Regions from separate parts of the Homo sapiens genome. Here region 2 is linked to region 1. Evidence: promoter capture Hi-C in human tissues and cell types (Jung and others, 2019). All regions are on one chromosome and are shown on one strand. The core of a region is centred on a gene start or on the middle of the fragment in contact, and the rest is flanking DNA. Distances in the headings are between cores, read along the strand shown. Region 1 holds the start of ZNF462 (zinc finger protein 462). Region 2 overlaps ZNF462 (zinc finger protein 462).

The links. The method cuts DNA at HindIII sites, captures the fragments that hold promoters and counts their contacts. A contact is called where the count stands out against the background at its distance.
Region 2: a contact is called between a fragment that was not itself captured here and the fragment with the promoter of ZNF462 in region 1, in 2 of the 25 tissues and cell types used here (dorsolateral prefrontal cortex and hippocampus).

Annotation. Positions count from the first base shown.
Region 1 is chr9:106,861,233-106,864,971 of GRCh38, forward strand. It overlaps ZNF462 (zinc finger protein 462), which reads left to right and starts at 1,934. Exons shown (of 13, transcript NM_021224.6): 1 at 1,934-2,123. The HindIII fragment of the contact is 13,314 bases long and covers 1-3,739 here.
Region 2 is chr9:106,935,877-106,939,615 of GRCh38, forward strand. It overlaps ZNF462 (zinc finger protein 462), which reads left to right. Exons shown (of 13, transcript NM_021224.6): 7 at 3,040-3,231. Among named protein-coding and RNA genes, the nearest start is that of ZNF462, 75 kb to the left of the region's middle. The HindIII fragment of the contact is 3,261 bases long and covers 307-3,567 here.

The sequences.
Region 1 (3,739 bases), core at 684-3,183:
TAGGGTCGGGAAAATCTTGGAAAATGAGGATTTAGATCTGTTTATGAAGCCCCGCTATCGGATGGGAACCAACTCCGCGCGCGTCTCCTCCTCTTCCTTTATTGTATGGATTTATAGGTATATATCTTCTCGGACTGTTGCTTGGGGGGAGGGAGGAGAAAGGGCGAGTATTTAAAGAGGACAGACTTGCCCAGGATCCTTAACACCGCGCCTTCACCGGATGCGCGCTCCTCAATGCAAAGGAATCCAGCAACATCCCCAATTCAGACGCGGACAAAAGAAACTTTAATTAAGGTCTCTTTCTGCCCCGCGCGCTGCGCGTTTCTCTCTCCTGAGGCTGTTGATGTCCAACTCCAAGATCCAAGAAATAGAAATGGTACAATCAGCCCATGCCCTTGAACTTCAATTGCTCCTGACTTGCTGCATTGATTTTTTTGATACTGTAGAACCCCCATCCCCAACCCCCACCGCTCCCAGTCCAATTAAAACCGTAGGAGACTTTCGACCTGGTGGTGGAGGGGGGGAACCACTCCTTTGCAAAAGAGATAGTTCAGAATGATACGGGAGAGATTACACTAAATAAAAATTCAAGGTGTGAAAGCTTCATCTTGGCTCGCGTGTCTTCAACACCATGACACCTTATCATTAAGAGCGCTGATTGTTACTTTCCGAGCCTTTAGATGATCAGCCAGAAAGTGCAAACAACGCGGGGCTGGAGGGTGTAAAGTTATTTAAGCAGGCGTTCTTTTTTTCTTTTGGTGCGCAGTCAAAACATTTCACAAGTTAGGAAAAGAAAGTGGTGGTTCCGAAGCTCGGAATGATGGGCTCTTTTCCTCCTCCACCCCCCCACCTTCCATATCAGGAAAGAAATAAAACGCACAATGAGCCTTTATTTCAGGAGAGAAGACTTCAAAATACGTGCCAGTAATGGACAATTTGAGCTTTTCACTGGAAATACTCACACCGCAAGCTGGAAAGGGATTAAAAAGCCCCACGTGGTTGATCTGGGTTTATACTTGCAACCTCCAGTTCCCCACGTATGTTCTTTGCAAAGGTTGGCCTCTAGATGGATGCAAGTAAGGGACCCTCTGGGGCTCGGGCTCGGCGCCTCGGGCAGGGCTGACGTTGGGAGCGCTATGAGCTGCCGGGCAGGGTCCTCACCGGGGGCTTCCTCTGCGGGCCAGGGCTGCCGGGCGCCACCGGGACGCGAGCGCGCACGCCTCGGCCCGGCGGCCGCGCTCCTCGCACCGCCTTCTCCGCAGGTCTTTATTCATCATCTCATCTCCCTCTTCCCCTTCTCCTTCTCCTTTGCCTCCTTCTCCTTTGCCTCCTTCTCCTCCTCTTCCTCCCCCTCCTCCACCACCACCTCCTCCTCCTCTGCCGCCGCCACCTCCTCCTCTTGCATCTCACTGGCCTGGCTCTGAGTGACAAAGACAATGTCCCAGCCTTAACTTTGCAACCACCTTGCCTCCTTCTGGGGTTCAGCAGGGGGGAGGGGGAACAGCAGCAGCAGCCTCAGCATCTCCTCCAGCTTCTCCTTCTGCTCTTCTCGAGCTCTTGGATAATTCTTCCTCTTTTTTCCCCTAGCCTTTTTCCTCATTTCTTTCTTTCTTTCTTTTTTTCCTTCCTCTCTGCTGCACGTTGTTGTTGTTATTAGAAAGGCTTCGCGCACCCCCTGGTGCTCCGGCGTTTTGTGTGGCAGGAGAAGATTGTCTTCCTTCTCTCTTTCTGTCTTGCTTTCTCTCTCCCCCTGGTTGCTCATTATTCAGAGAGAGACACAGAGGGAGGGAGAGAGAGAGAGCGCGCGAGGGAGAGGGAGGAGAGGAGAGAGAAGAGGAGAGAGAGGGGAGAGAGAGAGTGAGAGGGAGAGGGAGGGAGGGAGAGAGAGAGAGAGGGAGAGAGACGGATATCTCAGGTCATCTGCAGCTGCAGCGAGTCTGAGGAGCCGAGGAAGGCAGGGAAGATGGCGATCCTCCATTGCTGAGACCCGGCAGAAGCACATGAGACTCCCAAACAACTTCCACAACAATAACCCGAGCAGGAAGAGGAGAAAGAGAAAGAGGATAAGGAGGCGGTGGGGCTGGAGAACCCGAAGCACCTCCCGGCGCCGGGACGCTTCTTCTGTAAGTTACTGCAATTAACAACCACCTCGGGGTGGTCCGAGTGCTCCGGGGAAGAGAGCGCGGGGTGGTGGAGGCACAAACGCGCTCATTCATTCGGCCAAGGAGGGTTGGAGGAGCGGGGAGGAGAGGAAGTCCCCTGCATGGACTGGCTGTTGGAAGAGGAGAAGAAGCGAGAGAGAAGAGGAGGAGGGGGAGGAGGGAGAGCAGGAGGGGGAGGAGGAAGAGGAGGAGGAGAAGCGAGGGAGGAAGAGGAGGAGGAGGAAGAGGAGGAGAAGGTGGTAGTGGTGGCAGTGGAGGTGGCTGTGCTTTTCCTGCTGGCTGCTGCTCCTGCTGGGGGGAGTGAGCGCGGTGGCTTAATTAATTTCGTGTAGTTCTATGAAGAGAAGAGAAAATGAAAGATGAGTGAGAAGAGAGCTGGAGGCTTAGGACGGATGCTCCGAGTGTGGGGACAGGAGTAGGGACAGAGGGGGGCGGAGGGCGGGAGGCCGGAGACCTGAGCCGAGAGCCAGAGGGAGCGAGCGAGGGTCAGAGGAGGGAGAGCTCCGTGCGAGCGGCCCCGACCTGAGCGGGTTGACCTCTTTCTTTCTCTGTCCCTCTCCTTCCTTTCCCCCTTCTGTCTGCCTGTCCCCCGCCCGATGGCAAAGCCGTGCGGATTGGCAGCCCCCCTCTTCCTCAGGTATTTGGCTCTCTCTCTCTCTCTCTCTCTCTCTCTCTCTCTCTCTCTCTCTCTCTCTCTCTCTCTCTCTCTCTCTCTCCCTCTCCCCGAAGTTGGGATGCGGGGTCGGGATGTGTCGGGGGGTGGCTGCTGCAGCTGCTGGTGCCGGTGCTGCTGGTGAACAGAGAGGCGAGGAGCGGGGGGCACCGGCCGGGTGGGGGGCGCAGGTTCAGGAGCGGCTGAGGAGCTGTCTCCAGGCTGGAGGTTCAGAAGCGTCTGGTGGAGGAGGACAACGGTTTCTGGAGAGGAGAAGCCATTACACACGCTTGGCTCTCCTCTGAGGAAGGGAGAAAGGAAGGCAGGGGCCTGGGGGGGCGTCTCACTCCTGGTGCAGTTCCCAGGGGTCTGCCCTCCTTCCAGGCACGAGGGGAAGCCGCAGCCGCCCCCCATTGGAGCAGCCCCTCTTTCCCTTTCTTTATCTCCCTGTCCTCCATTTGCAAGCTGTCTGCTTTGGTTCCAGTCCAGACTCCAAAACACAAAGCTCCTTCTCACGTTCATTCTCCAGGCTGTTCACCATTCCTGAAGGAACCCTCGTTTTCTTTTCATTGTGGCTTCTAACCTACAGAGAGGGAGGGAGGGAGGCTGCCTGGAGTTCCTTTTATATTCCTCCCCAACCAAGAAAAAAAAAAGTTTCATTTTTAAGCACGCGTCTGGGATGGGGAAAGACCAACCAGTTGGGGCTTTCTCCCAGGGCTCCCGGGGGCTGTGTCTGAGTGTCTGTGTTGGCTGTTTGGTTTGCTTTGGTTTTGTTTCTGGAGGTTGCTTGCAGGTTTTTGGAGGAAGTGACTAGTTTGGTTAAGAGCTGGGAACTGAGTCAGGTAAGCCGTGTCATGTTGTAACTCCACCAGAAAATGGAGGAGAGCGGGTTTCCAGGAGACAAAGCTGAGATGAGAAGTGTTTA
Region 2 (3,739 bases), core at 687-3,186, 75 kb after region 1:
AAGTTAGAATTAGACTGTTGGTGATTTTTACAGAAATTTCTAAACTGCCTATACTTTCTAATTCAATTGCCAAGAATTGTTATATCTATTAAAAAGACTTTCCAGCTAAAATAAAGTTACCAACTTAAGGAAGTTAGAAAGGGCAAAGGGAACTCAAGATGTGTGAGATTTTTCAAGAGATACCCTTAGATATGTTTCCGTACATAAGACAGAAATGACTTTGGGTTGTGAGTGTCCAGCAGCTGTGCTGGTCTCTATCATATTGTTGTTCCATCTCATTACTCATTAGAAAAAATTGGAAATGAAAGAAGAAATACAGTCAGTCATCTATAATCTTATCTGAAGACCACTGTTGTTGACGTCTGATGTGTCATGACCCTTACCCACCAGGCTGTGCACTAGGCGTGTTATATGCATCATCTTCTTTAGTCCTATAATCGTCCTAAAGGGGAGGCATTGTGTCACATTCCTTGTGCCTTGTATAACCCTTGGTCACAGTTTGAACAGTGTTGTAAGAACTGCTCAGAACCTGGGTCCTTCACTTTCGCCAGCTCCTCATGCTCTGTGTAAACAGGACCATGTCTCTTCATTGTCTTCTGAGTGTTGGATTTTGTTGAACTGACTTAATGCAGTAAGATTACCCAGGTCTCCCAGTTGCCTCAAACTCCACTAGGAGTAAGGAATGGGACAGGGAAGTTAGCTATAGGGGCTTTTCTCTATCTTTTTGTATTTTTCTGTCTCTGGGAAATTTCTACTAAAGTCCTTGAAGTGAGTGGCTTCAGGGTTCAAATCACTGTTTTCTAACTTGTGTATATTGTAAATTATCCAGCTGGGACACTATCCTGGTGAGTTTTGCCCATAGGCCTTAGCCTTGTCAAAAGCACTTTTACCAGCGAGAGCTGGGAAGAGATGATTCGGCCTGTGGGAAAGACTTGAAGAGAGCATCAGAGCCTGCACACTGATGCCAGCGTATTAAGCTGAAGTGTCTGCTCTTGGAACTGACCCAAAAAACTGGCCTCCCTGTACTCACTGGCTGGCAGGAAGAGAGCATCCAGTAAGAGAGATTGGGAGCAGTGTAATTCAGTTCTTGACATACCTTGGAACCTTGGCCTCCATGACATTGCTTTGAGTGACTGAGTGGGGCTTGGCTTGGAAAAAGCCAGTACCTTTTCTGAAAGACTCTTGACTCATCTTGTCTTTTCTAGATAGATTATTTTATTTTATTTTAAAGAAGAAAAGGTAATGTGTGCTAACCCAAACATCTGGATTTGAATTCTCTCTCAGGTCGTGCAACTCACAGCCACCAGCAATATTCACACAACCAAGCTTGCATTAAAAGAAAAAAATGAAAAAATAGAATAAAGAGGGCAGTAGTATTCTATATATTGTCATATATATATTCATCCGTGGTGAGAGGAAGGCTTAATTACAGAACTTGGATGCTATACTCACTTCACATGTGAACCCATTTAGTAATTTTCATGGTGGCAGGAAAATAATAATCTCGGAAATGTAGGGACAAAGAATGATCTTCCAATACCTGTTTTTCTTACTTTTAATCCTTAGACCACACCTCTGTTCATTTTCACTGGTCCACAAAACTTTATGATTCTGTTTTCTCTTTTTTCTTCTCTGAGTTTTAAATGTCACCTTAAAAATTAATTTTAAAAATACATGTTCATTAGAGAAAGTTTGGAAATGAAAGAAGAAATACAGTCATTCATAATCTTGTTATCTAAACGCCACTGTTGTTAACATTTCATATATTTCCTTTCAGTCATTTTCTCTGTAATTATTTTTAATAGTTGTAATTCTAATGCAATTGAATATATATATTTAGCCTTTGTATTTACTTTTATTTTTATGTTATTATAAACTCCAAGAATTTATTTTAATTGAATAAAATAAATCATCAATAGGATATGCCCAGATTTACTTAATCTTTTCCTTATGGTTGTAAATTTAGGTTATTTCATACCTTTTTCAAGCATAAATGATGTATATTTCTAAGTAAAACTTTATATTTATTAAAGGATATCTTCTTATTACTCTTTGAAATGGAGTTACTGGGTTGGAAACATGAGCATTTCTAAGTCTATTGTTCTTAAAAGCAAAATGGCTTTCTGAATTGATCTTACCAGTGTATATATGTCCAACAATTTAAGCCTGCCCACTTCACACTCTTAGTTCTTAAAATGTAATTAATTTAACAGGTAATATATGGCGAAGGTAAATCACACTTTAACTTAATTTGGTCATGGTGATCTGTGTTGTATTTCAGTGGCATAAAATTAATTTTAAAAGTAGTGCTTATTTTTACTGAGAGGCAGTCTTTATTGAAGAATATTGGAGATAAACACACACACTGTACCCCCTAAACCCCCATGTTTACATATACAGCTCTCTTCCTTAGAGAAATGACTTATTTTTACCCATTTCTGTGCTATTGACTAGATAAGGAAATGGAGTTCTATGCTGAGGTTTATGAACTGGTCCAAAAATATATATATGTGGGATGAGAATGTGTATAGTTAGCAAGGAAGTACAGAATAGAATAGCACAACAGAGCTTGCACTGAATGACTTTGTGATTAAAAAGCCACTAATAGATCTTTGGAATAATAATTAAGCATGTTATTTTCTGGGACTGACAAAAAGGCCACCTTGAATGAAACCTGACATGGTCATTTCTAGTGTAGAGAGGGAGGGAAAGGGATTGGAAATTTTTCTAAAGGAGGTATCATGGGCAGTTGGGTTTGACTTCCTATTGGGGAATTAATTCATAGCTTCACTCCTGTAAGCAGAGCCCAAAATGAAAAAGGACCAGTTCACTAGATTCTGGAGCTCATGGAAGAGTTTCAACTCCAAAGGAGTACTGTGGTTGTGGCAGGTTGTTGGTCTGTGAGGTTCGTTCATAGAACATGAAGCTTGAGATGCGCTTCTCTAGCATGAGTTAACTGAGTTATCTTGTTTCCACCCTGGCCTTATACCCTTCTCCCCTCTTTTTCCTGTTCTATTTCTTGTCACCATCCTCTTCCAGGTGAGCATGCCTACAAGTGTTCTTGGTGCTCATTCTCCACCATGACAATCAGCCAGCTGAAGGAACACTCCCTCAAGGTCCACGGAAAAGCCCTGACCCTCCCCAGGCCACGGATCGTCAGTCTCCTCTCCTCACACTCCCACCACTCCTCCCAAAAAGCTACCCCGGCTGAAGAAGTGGAAGACTCCAATGGTAAAAATGGGCTTCCAAGCTGGAATTAACCACTCAGGGTTGAGGTGGGCTGGGATTCATTGCCAATCATTTTTTTTAGAGGAAAATCTTATGTGAAAACATGATGGTTCAAGTGAAGGAAGAAATATGAAAAAGTTGAAATGGTGTGGAAGTTGGAGTGGGAAGGGGAAATGAACTTGTTGAGCATCTGTGTGACGCCATGATGAAAATGGAATTCAGTGCTCATGGGAGTGTTGCTAGTGGAAAGAGCCTGTCAAGTGGGATGGATTAGTTTTGGATCGTTCCACTGTGGTTTCAAGCAAGAAAGCGAATACAGTACCAGGCCAATTTGTTTGTTTTTATTTATATCCTGTCTTGTTCTAAAAATATGTGCTGCGAAATGTTTGGGGAGACAGGTATGTACATTAATGACACAAAATTCAGAGTAGGAGTGCAAAGGGTGAATGAGTGGGGAAGTGTGTCTGACTGAGCCACGTGATACCTTAGGGGTGACATAGGGATTTCTTAC